3 separate regions of the Homo sapiens genome follow, and regions 1 and 2 are each linked to region 3. Evidence: promoter capture Hi-C in 16 types of primary human blood cells and fetal thymus (Javierre and others, 2016). All regions are on one chromosome and are shown on one strand. The core of a region is centred on a gene start or on the middle of the fragment in contact, and the rest is flanking DNA. Distances in the headings are between cores, read along the strand shown.

Region 1 (4,077 bases), core at 959-3,458, 190 kb before region 3:
TATGACTTGAATGTGTCTTCTCCAAAATTCAGGTGTTGCCAATGTGATAGCATTAAGAGGTGGGGACTGTAAGAGGTGACTGAGGCTATGAGGGGGTCCTTTCTCGTGAATGGGGTTACGGCCCTTATGAAAAACATTTCATGCAGTGTTCAGCCTCTTGCCTTCCACTTTCTGTCATGTGAAGACATAGCATTCCTCCTCTCCAGAGGATGCAGCCCTCACCAAACAGCCAAACCTACCAGCACCTTGAGCTTGGACTTCTCAGCCTCCAGAACTGCAAGAAAAAAAGTTTCTGTTCTTTATAAATTACCCAGTCTCAAGTATTTTGTTATAGCACACAAGCAAATTAAGACACCCATAGATATACATGTTTATTTCTAGACTCTCAATTCTACTCTATTGGTCTGTAGGTCTATCCTTTTGCTAGTACCACACTTTTCATTACCATAGTTTTGTAGTAAGTTTCAAAACTGGGAATTGAATGGTATACCTTTGTCCTTTTCCTTTCTTTTTTTTTTTTTTTTTCAGATGGAGTCCCACTCTGTCACCCAGTCTGGGGTGCAGTGGTACAATCTCGGCTCACTGCAACCTCCTCCTGCTGGGTTCAAGCGATTCTCCTGCCTCAGCCTCCTGAGTAGCTAGGACTACAGGCACGAGTCACCACACCTGGCTAATTTTTGTATTTTTAGTAGAGACAGGGTTTCACCATGTTGGCCAGGCTGGTCTCAAACTCCTGGCCTTAAATGATCTGCCCACCTCAGCCTCCCAAAGTGGTGGGATTATAGGCGTGATCCGCCACTCCTGGCCGCATGTAGCCCTTAATAGGGAAGAATGACTCAATTCTGTAGGCTCAGAGGGTCAAGAGGAATCTGGGAATTCAAGATTTTGGGGGGCATCAACCCAGATGTCCCTGTCCCATGTGTCAGAGTCTCACTCTTTCCCAACCAGAACCCTGACCTAATTTGGTTGGTAGTTTAATCTTCTTTGGAGTTTGGCTACACTGATGATTTAGTCTGGGTCTTGTCCTCAGCATTCTCTGCCTTCCCACCTTAGGTCACGAAAGTCTCTTTACATGCTACCAGAGACCCTCTGGCGAAAGCTTTCATTTGGCTCTAGTTGCCTGGTGTTTACTCTCTCGGCCTTTTGGTTTCTTTTCCTAGAGCTTCAACAGAGGTGAGCAATAACCATATAATCCCATTGTCCTTAGAATTACTATTTCTGCCATATATTGCTTGAGCTAATACATTCTCTTCCATTGGTATACAATCCCAGTTCACCACTAGTGAAAGTTTTAGTACCTGGCCGCCACCTTCTGCCAGGGGTTATCTGGGTTCCATCTATTACCAGTAACAGGTCCTCCCTACCAGCTAGGTGGATGAGTGACCCAGTTCCAAAACTCCATCTTATCTGTGCTTTCTCAGACCTCTCCTGGCTCTGACTGTGGTAGTTTGGGTTTTCCAGGAAGCAGATCCTGAGACGGACTTCAGTGTACAGGATATTTATTAGGGAGGGCCCTTGGGATCGACATCTGTGAATGGCAGGGAAAGGAAATAAGATTGGGCAGAGGGTGAAGTTGATCTGAGATGCAGGCTGATAGCCTCAGTTAACCCCACACAGGAATCTCTCCAGAGGAAGTGGATCATCAGAGTTGTTCTGACAGGGCAAAATAGCTAGGCCTTTTGTATTAGTGTTTTCACACTGCTATAAAGAAATACCTGAGACTGGGTAATGTATAAAGAAAAGAGGTTTAACTGACTCAACAGTTCCGCATGGCTGGGGAGGCCTCAGGAGACTTACAATCATGGCGGAAGAGGAAGCAAGCACATCTTAGGTGGCAGCAGGTGAGACAGAGAGAGAGAGTGTATGTGAAGGAGGAACTGTCAAACACTTATAAAACCATCAGATCACCGGGCGCGGTGGCTCATACCTGTAATCCCAGCACTTTGGGAGGCTGAGGTGGGCAGATCACAAGGTCAGGAGTTTGAGACCAACCTGACCAACATGGTGAAACCCCGTCTCTACTAAAAATATAATAATTAGCAGGGTATGGTGGTGCATGCCTGTAATCCCAGCTACTCAGGAGGCTGAGGCAGGAGAATTGCTTGAACTCAGGAGGCAGAGGTTGCAGTGAGCTGAGATTGCACCATTGCACTCCAGCCTGGGCAACAAGAGGGAAACTCCGTCTTAAAAAAAAAACCAAAAAACAAACAAAAAAAACACGATCAGATCTCGTGAGAACTCATTCACTATCACGAGAACAGCATGGGGGAAACCCGCCTCCATCATCCAATCACCTCCCACCAGCTCCCTCCCTCGACACATGGTGATTATGGGGATTACAATTTGAGATGAGATTTGGGTGGGGACACAGAGCCAAACCATATCACCTTTCTACTTCTGCCTTGATCAGTCATCAGATTTGGGCAACCCAGAAAAGGCACATCTTCTTGGGCAAGGTAGCTCTCTGCACATGAGGCAAACCCGGAAGGAAATGGTAGCTGACAGCTGTGTGCTGAGCACAGTCCCCACAGCAGGGCAGCAAGTCTTTCCTTGGAGGGGGATCTGGTCAAAGCATCTCAACATCCACCACAGGTATCATGTCAGCAATTGACTCTCAAATTGTTCAGGTAAAAATTCATTATGCTATGTGCGCAACTTTTCTGTTAGTTTGAAAAACTTTAAAAATAAAATGCTTTTAAAACAAATGGACAGACTTACACAAATTAAATGTGACTGAAAAAATGTCAAGAGCCTCCTGTTGCTGATGCAAAGAAAGGAGCATGATGTTGAAGAGATGAAAATTCATTTGAATGAGTAAAATAGGGATGGCCAGAAGAATTAGTGAGAGATAAGAGTGAAACAGTAAATTGAAGTTTCATCTTTGCTGATGCAATATAATTCCAAGACTTCAGAATAGGGCAAGAATGCAAAATGCTTATTGCCTCACATTTACACTGGCCTTTAATTTCACCTCACCTCTTCTGAGTAGGTGAAGTCTCTTCTAGACTACCTTTAGTAGCTCCTGTTCCCTATCTCCCTTTTCCTTTTGTTCCTTTCCTCCCCACGACCATCATGAAAATTGGTCTGTGGAGATGTGAGTCTTTACTAAGCGTCTCATACTGGGATGAAGATTATTTTTAGGATTAATCTGAGTCACAGAGGGAGGAGGGAAAGAACCATTTTAATCTTTTCCTTTTCACTCCTTCATAACCTGCTGTACAGCTAAATCATTTTACAAATACGTCTTTCCTCCTTTTCCCTAGGAATGCTTTGCCTTTTATCTTTCCTTTGGAAGCAGTATCCATAAGCCTTCATCAGAAGCTTCTAAAAGTGGAAGGGATTTTTCTTTGTTAGAAAGGACCACGGGCTAATTAAAGGAGATTGCTATAAGCTGCTTTCATGTAAGTAGATCCATTTATTATTATAGCGGTTGTTGGTATCTGAGGGGTTATATAGTTGCCCCTGTTTCCCTTTCTCACTGGCCCTCTCAGCTACACCCATGTCTTAGTCTGTTTTGTGCTTTTTATAACAGAATACCTGAGATTGAATAATTTATAAAGGAAAAAAATTTATTTGGCTCACAGTTGTGGAGGCTGGGAAGTCTAAGAGGGGACAGTATCTAATGAGGTCCTTCTTGCTGCATCATCTCATGGTAGAAGGCAGAAGGGCAAGAGTGATCTCAAGAGGGCAAGAACGATCTCCAGAGGGCAAGACATTGAACTTGAAGCTTCCAGCTTTATTATAATCAGCATGATTCAATTCATGAGAGTGGAGCCCCCATGACCTAAACACCTCCAATTAGGCCCCACCTCCCAACACTGCTGCATTGGGGATTAAGTTGCCAACATACGCTTTTTGGGGAACACGTTCAAACCATAGCAACCCCACTCTGGATTTTCCCTTCTGTCGCTCTGAGGCTGAGCGTGGAAGGGACTCCTGCTTTCTGTGGAGAGATGCAGGCAGAGACTGTGTTTGACCTTCTTCCTTTGCAGCAACATGCTTGAGCATGCCTCATGTTTCACTGTTGGACGACATTTCTTTGAGGGGTAAATAAGCATGTGAACGCTACACTTTAAA
Region 2 (4,357 bases), core at 1,369-3,868, 240 kb before region 3:
CCACAGGTGTGCACTACCTACCCATGCCCAGCTGATTTTTTTTTTCTTTTTAGTGGAGATGAAGTCTTGCCATGTTGCCCAGGCTGGTCTTGAACTTCCTAAAATCAAGCGATCCTCCTTCTTCAGCCCCCTAAAGTGCTGGGATTATAGGCGTGAGCCACTGTGTCCAACTGTGAGTAACTTTCAAAGACAGTGACCTATTCATTCTTAAATGTTTTCTTCTGATAAATATCTTTAGTTCCCTCTGTATATTTCCTCCCAGGGGAACCAAATAATTTTAAAGTTTTTGATTTAAAGATAAGTATAAATTTTAGATATGCGGAAATGAAGCAGACTTACCCTCTCAAAATACAAAAACCTGACCACTTTTAAAGATGAAAAAGGTTTGTGTGCAAGGTGTCTAAAGAGGCAAGATACCCTACTCTTACGAAGTCAACTATTAAAGCCTGAGACATTCTTCCACCAGTAACAGTTAATTCCAAAATGAGTTTGAAGGTAAAGCAAGAAAGTGGTTTCCTGGTCCTGTAAAGACCGTTTGTTGCCAGGCAGACCTTTCAAAGAGAGATGTAGAGGGGCGCCCATCTGCTCCACTGCCCAAGCCCAGGTGAACCTCTGGGTGGAATAAGAGCCGAGGACTTTAGACCAAGCCCCTCCCGTCAAAACCCAAAGCCTTCCCTTTGTCCCCACACCTTGCCTATCTGATTACTGTATGGAACTGAGCACTACTAGACTCATGTGCTAGATTTTTAATCTCTGGTGACCTGAATGTTACACACCTCTCTCTCTTAAAGCATCCTTGGATTTTTAAAATTTTTATTTAATTTTTGTGTGGTTTATTTCCACACAATTGAATCTTTTTCTATGGGAAATCAGCATTGACAAAAAAGAAAGGGTCTCTGTACTGTGGTCCCCAAATAAATAATAGGTAGGTAATATGTAACAGGTCACCAGACCAAATGCAGTCACTATAAGAAAAGGAGAAATGAGTTTCATGGGACAGTCAGAGAAAAATAAATTTGGGTGTTTTAAAAATTTACTTGTTATATGCCAGGCTCTGGGCTAAGTACTTTAAATGTATTATATTATGTAATCTTCAAAACAACCTTATGTTCTAACTACCATTATTAATAGGTTGTTTTTGTCACAATGAGGTAACAGAAGTTAAGGGAAACTATGTAACTCTTCAAAAGTTATACAACTAAAAAGTGGCAGGACTCAGATGAGAGCGGGCAGGGTCAGAAGGCCAGCCAGGTCTTCTTAGTTCGCTTTTCACCATGTCGTCTTGCTACTGGCTTGGGGGAACCCCTGGGTAAGAACCAGGTGGATGCAGAGTCACGGCTGGGACAGATGTCTCGGAAGTCAGATGACTTTGGTTTAAGAACTGACCAGTTAGCAACTACGTGCCTTTGGGCAAATTAGTCAACCTCTCAAAGTCTCAGTTTCCTCAATAAAAACAAGGAAATAAGAGCAACTAGATCATAATGTTGTTATGAGGATCAAACAGGATGCATGTCAAGTGTTGAGCATTTGCCTGAAATTCAGTATGTGTGGAAAAAACGTTAACCATCAGAAATCAGTGATACTTGTGAAAGGAGGAAATATGCAAAAGTAAATCTAAGAGAAATGTAGAAGAAGAATGAAAGAAAATATCACATAATTTCTGAATAGTTTAATTTCTTGATTCCCAATTAGGTAATAAAAAAGGTTGACAAAAGTTCCAGTATAACTGGCAAATTCTCAAGTCAGAAAGCAAAAGCTCAAGGGATAAAACCCAAAGTAGGAACAACAGCAGTTCCTACCTTTCAAGCTCACCTGAATGAACTAGGTCACTCATGACAACTCGTTCTTTAAAAATAAAATGTCCGGGCTAGGCACAGTGGCTCATGCCTGTAATCCCAGTACTTTGGGAGGCCAAGGCGGGCAGATCACTTGAGGTCAGGAGTTTGAGACCAGCCTGGCCAACATGGTGAAACCCCGTCTCTACTAAAAATACAAAAATTAGCCAGGTGTGGTGGCGCACACCTGTAATCCCAGCTACTCGGGAGGCTGAGGCAGGAGAATCACTTGAACCCAGGAGGCAGAGGTTGCAGTGAGCCGAGATCACACCACTGCACTCCAGCCTGGGTGACAGAGCGAGACTCCGTCTCAAAAAAAAAAAAAAAAAGTCCAGTGACTTGGCAGCCGGATTACATCTAATGCCAAGATGAAGTCCAGAATCCCGAAATGATGAAATGTAATTTCCATACACGACTCACCTCGAATGCCCCCTTTATATCGGTTTTTAATGGCAGCCAAGCTGATGGACTCCTCGCCTTCCTCCTCCTCATCGTATCGATCAGGTTCCAGGTAACTGGCGCTCAGCCCCCGCTGGTGCTGTTTCTCTCTCATTCGGCGCTGCTGAGATTCCCTACGTATGGAAGCCCTCAAACGTTCTTCTTCTTTCTGTAAAGAAGCAAATAACCTCTTTAACCTAAAAAGGAGCTACTTTTGTGCCCACTTGAACCCACTTTTATTACAAATAGCATGTAATGTCTGGTCCAGATAACAGCTGTGCCGTGTGTGTTCCCCATCCCACCTCTGTGGCTCCACAGGGACCCTCTGGTTTGGTTTGCAGGAGCAAAGGCAACACAAGGGTAAAGCGGCAGAAGGGAGCCCTGACACTAACCGGCCCAACTGGCATTGGCACAGGTGTGTCCTCGGGAGCTGTGCTGGTGTTCTGTGCTGCCACTTAACCCAGAGAGAAGCAACCCGCCTGAGAAACCCCATTCATGCCCAGCAGAAACCTAAATTGACTCCCTGGAGCAGCAGTGGCTGTTCCTGTTCATCCCTGAACCACAGACAACTGATCTGCCCCAGCTCTACCAAACTCCCATAGTTCCCAGATATTCTGGTCCCAGCCCCTCAGCCCCTCAACCCAGAGAGCTCCTCACGGCTCCTGATGACAGGTTGGGGAGCGTCCTAGAGCCACAAGGTAGACCTTTCATTTCCTTTGCACTGCCTGGCATTCTGCACCTTGATGTTAAACCAGGTTGGGGGTAGGGGTGGTGTTGGAGTAGGTTTCAGGGATATTCTGGGATTTCTTTGAAGGTCTTCCTCATCCCGTTGCTCTGTATTATCATATACAACTCCAATTATATTGCTAGAAATTCTATGGAACAGATTGTTTTAATAGTATGTGGCTGTACGGAGGTTAGAGTAAAAATCACTGTCAGTAGTACAGGGACTAAGAACAAACCAGCTGACTCCTAGTCTACATTTTCACAGGAGCTGGGGACATGGAGGAGGGTGTGGGGAGATGCTCAAAGTGGTTCAAGAGCTTCTCCAATAATGCTGAGACTGGAATCTGCAGGTTCCTCCAGTTCCCTTAGTCTGTACAGAAAAGGTGGGGAAATGGAACAAGCCCAGCTCCAAAGCAAATGCCGCTATATACCACTAGGTTAGGTACTGCTATTAGATCTGGTTTAATCTGTCTCCATGAACAAATACAGGATGGAGGAAAAAGCAAGGGCTCAGAGCCAAACCTTCAGCAGAGCCTGACCATAAGATTTGTAAGAAAGGCCCTGAGGTAACTGGACTGTCTTAGCCTCACCATGCCCTGCTTCACTAAACAACGTAATCACAAGAGGCAGGGTGGGCAAAGGCCAAAATCTAGTAGGGATTAGAGAAGATGGAGAGGAGAAATGATGAGCCTGTACTACTGCATATGGCTTCTCAAATCAAGTGCTGCAGGAAAGGCCAATAGCCAATATGAGCACATGCTCTATCGATTAGGTACAATGCCCCAAATAAACTTGTGCCTAATTAACAGCTGGGTCAAATTTGAAAATATACCAGGTAGAATGTTACAAATTGACCTTAAAAACTCATAAGCTCGTCTTATTCTTTACCAGAGTCTACTTTAGGCACTCTCTCATTCAAACTCCTGGTCTATTCTCTATTTTACACTACTCTCTAGTATCTCCACTGACTTCTGACATGGATTCTAAACCACACATAGATGACTTAATGATCTTTGAACTTATACATGAAAATTCAGATATTTCAATCACCGGTTTGTTGCTGAACTCTCAGGGCCTGGTGAAGAGAGAACCTGAGCCCTGTTTCTGTTTTACTATCATTGCCACGTCACCAATTGTTTGGCAAATGCTGAGGAAATGAATCCAGCTCCCTATTCATGTCAGTTGGAAGAGGAAAAGGTAGGCCAATAAGAGATGACGAACAAGCATTTTGGGAAATACTTGCCTAATATACCAAAGAATCCCAGGATAACGCTTAGGCTTAGCAAACATACCTTAATCATTTCTGTGCGTTGGCATTCAGGATCACGACCAGCCATTGGCAAGATTCTAATCTTCTG
Region 3 (4,349 bases), core at 476-2,975:
CCAAGTGTCCACCAACCGACAAATGAAAAACAAAATGTCTATCCCTCCAGTAGACTGCTATTCAGCAATAAAAAAGAATGACGTTCTGACACATGCTACAACATGGTCAAACCTTAAAAACGCTATCCTATGACAGAAGCCAGACACAAAAGGCCACATATTGTATGATTTATTTATATGAAGTGTACAGGATCAGCAAATCCATAGAGACATGAAGCAGATGAGTAGTTGCGAGGTGGAGGGAAGAGAGAATAAGGGGGAAGGAGGGAGCTGAGAGTGAGTGGCTGCTTAAGGGGTATGGGATTTCTTTTTCGGGGTGATGAAAATACTCTGGAGTCAGTGGCAATGGTTGCAAATCCTTGTAAATAAACTTAAAAAACACTGAAATATATGTTTTAAAATGATGGGTTTTAAAACATGAAACAAAACGTGGACATCATATCTCAATAAATTTTTTTTTTTTTTTTTTTAGACAGAGTCTTGCTCTGTCGCCCAGGTTGGAGTGCAGTGGCGCAATCTCGGCTCACTGTAAGCTCCGCCTCCCAGGTTCATGCCATTCTCCTGCCTCAGCCTCCCAAATATCTGGGAATACAGGCGCCCGCCACCTCACCCGGCTAATTTCTTGTATTTTTAGTAGAGATGGGGTTTCACCGTGTTAACCAGGATGCTCTCAATCTCCTGACCTCATGATCTGCCCGCCTCAGCCTCCCAAAGTGCTGGGATTACAGGCATGAGCCACCGCGCCCAGCCCAAAGATTATTTTTAAAATGGACAAAAGGCTTGTGTAGTCACTTCACAAATGAGGATACTTATATGGTCAATAAACATATAAAAAGGTGCTCATTATCATTAGTCATCATAGAAATACAAAGTAAAACTACGATGTGATACAACTACTTAGCCATCAGAAAACCTAAAAAGCCTGACAACACAAAGTGTGGGCAAGGATGCAGAGACTGGAACTGCCTTTCTCTGCTAGTGGGAGTATAAGTCGGTATAACCACTGTAGAAAACTGGTTGGTAGGAGCTACTAAAGTGAAACGGATATAGTCTATGACCAGGCAATTCTACTCGTGCATACATACACCACAGAAAATAATGCTTATTTCCTTAAAAAAAAAAAAAAAAAAAAAAAAAAAAAAAAAAAAAAAACATAAATGTCATAGCAGCTATTCATAGAAGGCCTAAACTTGAAAGACCCAAATGTTCACCAGTCACAGACGAAACTGTGAAATGAGCATAGAATAAAAAATAACTGATACACACAATGTGGATGTATCTCAGACTTACAACTAAAAACCTCTTTCTAACCCCATAAGCTGTACTCAGAGGCTTATGTTGCCATGTGTCACCTGGATCAAATTTTAAAACTGACTTAGTGATTTTAAGTATGCTTAATCTCTTTCCTGATGCCAATATTAATGTAAAAAATATTGAAATATTTCAATTTGAAATATTTGAAATTTACTATTTCAAAATAAATTCATGTGTATTGTAGAAAAATTAGATTCTACGGATTAACAACAACAAAACCCCTCACCCATGCTCCCACCGCACAGAAAGACCTGCTAACACTGTGCCCTGTACTCATCTGGATGCTTTTCTGAGCATTTCAAAAGCTGGAGTATTTTAACCGAATGTCAGCATGCACATACCTTCCAGAGTCAGCACTGGGAGCCACAGAGCAGATGGTGAGAGGTGAGGACCAGCGCGCAGCTTGAGGTGTGAAGCACGTCTCCCACTGGCTAATCTCCTTATCTTCTCTGGAGTGCTGCTCAGCTTGCTTCCTTCCTCCACAGCACTTCCATGCTCCCTGCTGGGCACGCACTGCCATCTGCATCCCTCACTCACCCCTGGAACCTGCCCAGCCCCTCTGTGGAGGGAGGCCTTGGCAGGTTTGACCTCTGTGTCTGCGCCCACTCACTGAGCAGCCCTCACATTCACCTGGGCCACATGTTCTTAACATTTCTCTATTTTGGTCTCCTTGCCACTGTCAGCTTTGTAGAACTGATCAAGACTGTGGGATGAGTGCCTCCCTTTCCCCATTTTTCCACACATAAACTCCTCAGCCTCCACAGGTCTCCCTGTCCCCAAACATGACCTACTTTTTCCCATGGTTGACTCCCCACCACACACACACAGTCCTCCAACGGGACTTTGCTCCTTCAGTTCTCTTCCCACCTCATCAGCAGTAGGATGAAGGCAGGGATGAGGAGGATGTGGCACCTGCCCTCTGGGGCTCACAGGCCTACAGAGGAAATGGGCAGCATTTCTGGCTTCCAGTCCAGGGTAAGTGCTATAAAACAGGCATAAATCCTGAGTTATGGAAGCCGAAAACCAACAGTGATGGCTCCTCATGGTGTGGGGAAGGTCTAGAAAGGGCATGGAGGCCGCAGCTCAGGATCAGAAACCCTGCCAATTCTCTGCCAAGTAGCCCCTCATTCTGACAGTGTGGAAGCGCCCTGGAGACACAGCCTAAGCCAGCACTTATGACATATTTACTTCTTCTCTAAACATTTTAATATACTTTAAATGAGATATTATGAATCTATAAAGATTCTAGCATCTTTCAGTATGACCGTAAAGAAAGGCATACAACTTGTACACTTAAGAGACATGTCATCTCCTCGCAATGAAAGAATCTGACCCAATTCATTTGGTAATTAATTTTATTGATTAAAGTATTACAAAGTTCTACTTTTCATTTTTTCATGTACAATGTATTGAAATGAACTAAACTCAATCACTTATAATATAAAAAGACATTATTATGTATTAGCAGGGTGATGCTTCATAATCATGTATTATTCCTACCTCTAAGACACCAGTCTGTATTATAGAATCACAGCTGTCACCTGTGACTGTCAGAAACAGAAGGTGCAATTGGGATTCTTAGGTTGGTGACAGAATAGCACTGGATCCACAGGCCAGAGACTAGGAGTGCTTATCAAATGAGGTTTTAGGCTCTGAAAGGAAGGAATGAGAAGGTGTGCCGGGACAAGGAATAGCCAGTTCCCATAAAACTTGGGAAACGTAGATTTCTCAAAAGTAGGGTCCGACACAATTTTTTAGTTACTTTTTGAGAAAATTTAAAAATAAATACATTGAAATGCTGATTAGAGAGCGAAAGTAATTTAGGTTGCTTTTTCAATCTGAGGTTGTTTTAAAAAAGTTATTGTATGAAAGGTATTAAAAAATAAAAAAATTATGGTGAATATGTTGGCAGGTAAGATTTGAAGTTCTTTCAGAGAAGATAAACGGCATGGCAATTAAGCTTTAATAATATATTAGTTTTAAATAGATATACATATAAAAATACTTCAAATGATTCATCTCGGATTGAACACTCTTAAAAATTAAAAGGGTCAGCCGGGCGCGGTGGCACACGCCTGTAATCCTAGCACTTTGGGAGGCTGAGGTGGGCGGATCACGAGGTCAAGAGATCGAGGCCATCCTGGCCAACATGGTGAAACCTGTCTCCACTAAAAATACAAAAATTAGCTGGGCGTGGTGGCAGGTGCCTGTAGTCCCAGCTACTCAGGAGGCTGAGGCAGGAGAATTGTTTGAACCCAGGAAGCGGAGGTTGCAATAAGCCGAGATCATGCCACTACACTCCAGCCTGGCGATAGAGCGAGACTCCGGAGTCTCAAAAAAAAAAAAAAAAAAAAATTTAGAAGGGTCTAAAATAAACATTTTTAAATGCAGGGCATTTTCAGTAAAAAGAGTTCATGAAAACCTTCTGTCCCCAGCAGGCATGGGGCAAGAGAACTTTTGGCAGGTCACGGTGGCCAAACGGGATTTTTTCCTGGAAGACTCAGCACTAGAATCCACTTGCAGCTTTGTAAATGTACTCAGGTTTCACATGAACCTTAGAAAACTTGGAAGCCACTGTGTCCCCAGATCTCACTCCCTCCTGGTAGAGCCCTGCCACAAGACAGAACAGATCAAGAGGCACGTGGAAGAAAATATGAGCCCTCCAGGAATTTCAGTGAAAACCAGCTGAGATTCGAGAGTGAGACATGGCTTTTCCAAATACAGCTGGTGTGTGTGAATTCTTACAAAATTACAGGAGCAGCATTGTCACTGTGAGTGAGAGATGATGTGGTCCATTTGAGAAAAGTCTGTTTTCTTCCTTAAATCACATTCCAATTTCCACTGCCAATTAATAAAACACATCCCTCATATTGAACCTTCACTTAGCTTTTGAAGAAAAAGTGCATTGACTTTTTCTCCTGCTATAACCTATTCAGAAAGCCTAGCTTGAAACTGCTGGGGATCTGAATCATTTCCAGAGCATGTGGAGAGGGGGTAAAAGGAAATGTGACTTGAAAGAGATATTTGGTATCCAA

What was found. The method cuts DNA at HindIII sites, captures the fragments that hold promoters and counts their contacts. A CHiCAGO score of 5 or more calls a contact.
Region 1: a contact is called between a fragment that was not itself captured here and the fragment with the promoter of GNB5 in region 3, in 11 of 17 cell types (naive CD4 T cells, naive B cells, total CD8 T cells and 8 more). The highest score is 8.8, in naive CD4 T cells.
Region 2: a contact is called between a fragment that was not itself captured here and the fragment with the promoter of GNB5 in region 3, in 1 of 17 cell types (M1 macrophages). The highest score is 6.7, in M1 macrophages.

What each region holds. Positions count from the first base shown.
Region 1 is chr15:52,001,002-52,005,078 of GRCh38, forward strand. It overlaps a transcript of MAPK6 not described here. Among named protein-coding and RNA genes, the nearest start is that of MAPK6-DT, 16 kb to the right of the region's middle. The HindIII fragment of the contact is 2,222 bases long and covers 1,098-3,319 here.
Region 2 is chr15:51,947,553-51,951,909 of GRCh38, forward strand. LEO1 (LEO1 component of Paf1/RNA polymerase II complex) reads right to left here. Exons shown (of 12, transcript NM_138792.4): 9 at 4,292-4,357; 10 at 2,256-2,442. Among named protein-coding and RNA genes, the nearest start is that of LEO1, 22 kb to the right of the region's middle. The HindIII fragment of the contact is 6,257 bases long and covers 1-4,357 here.
Region 3 is chr15:52,189,667-52,194,015 of GRCh38, forward strand. GNB5 (G protein subunit beta 5) reads right to left here and starts at 1,726. Exons shown (of 13, transcript NM_016194.4): 1 at 1,656-1,726. MYO5C (myosin VC) reads right to left here. Exons shown (of 41, transcript NM_018728.4): 41 at 2,656-4,349. The coding sequence ends at 4,236. The region is part of intron 2 of CERNA1 (competing endogenous lncRNA 1 for miR-4707-5p and miR-4767); the gene reads left to right. RefSeq lists an enhancer at 1,824-2,323. The HindIII fragment of the contact is 7,593 bases long and covers 1-3,272 here.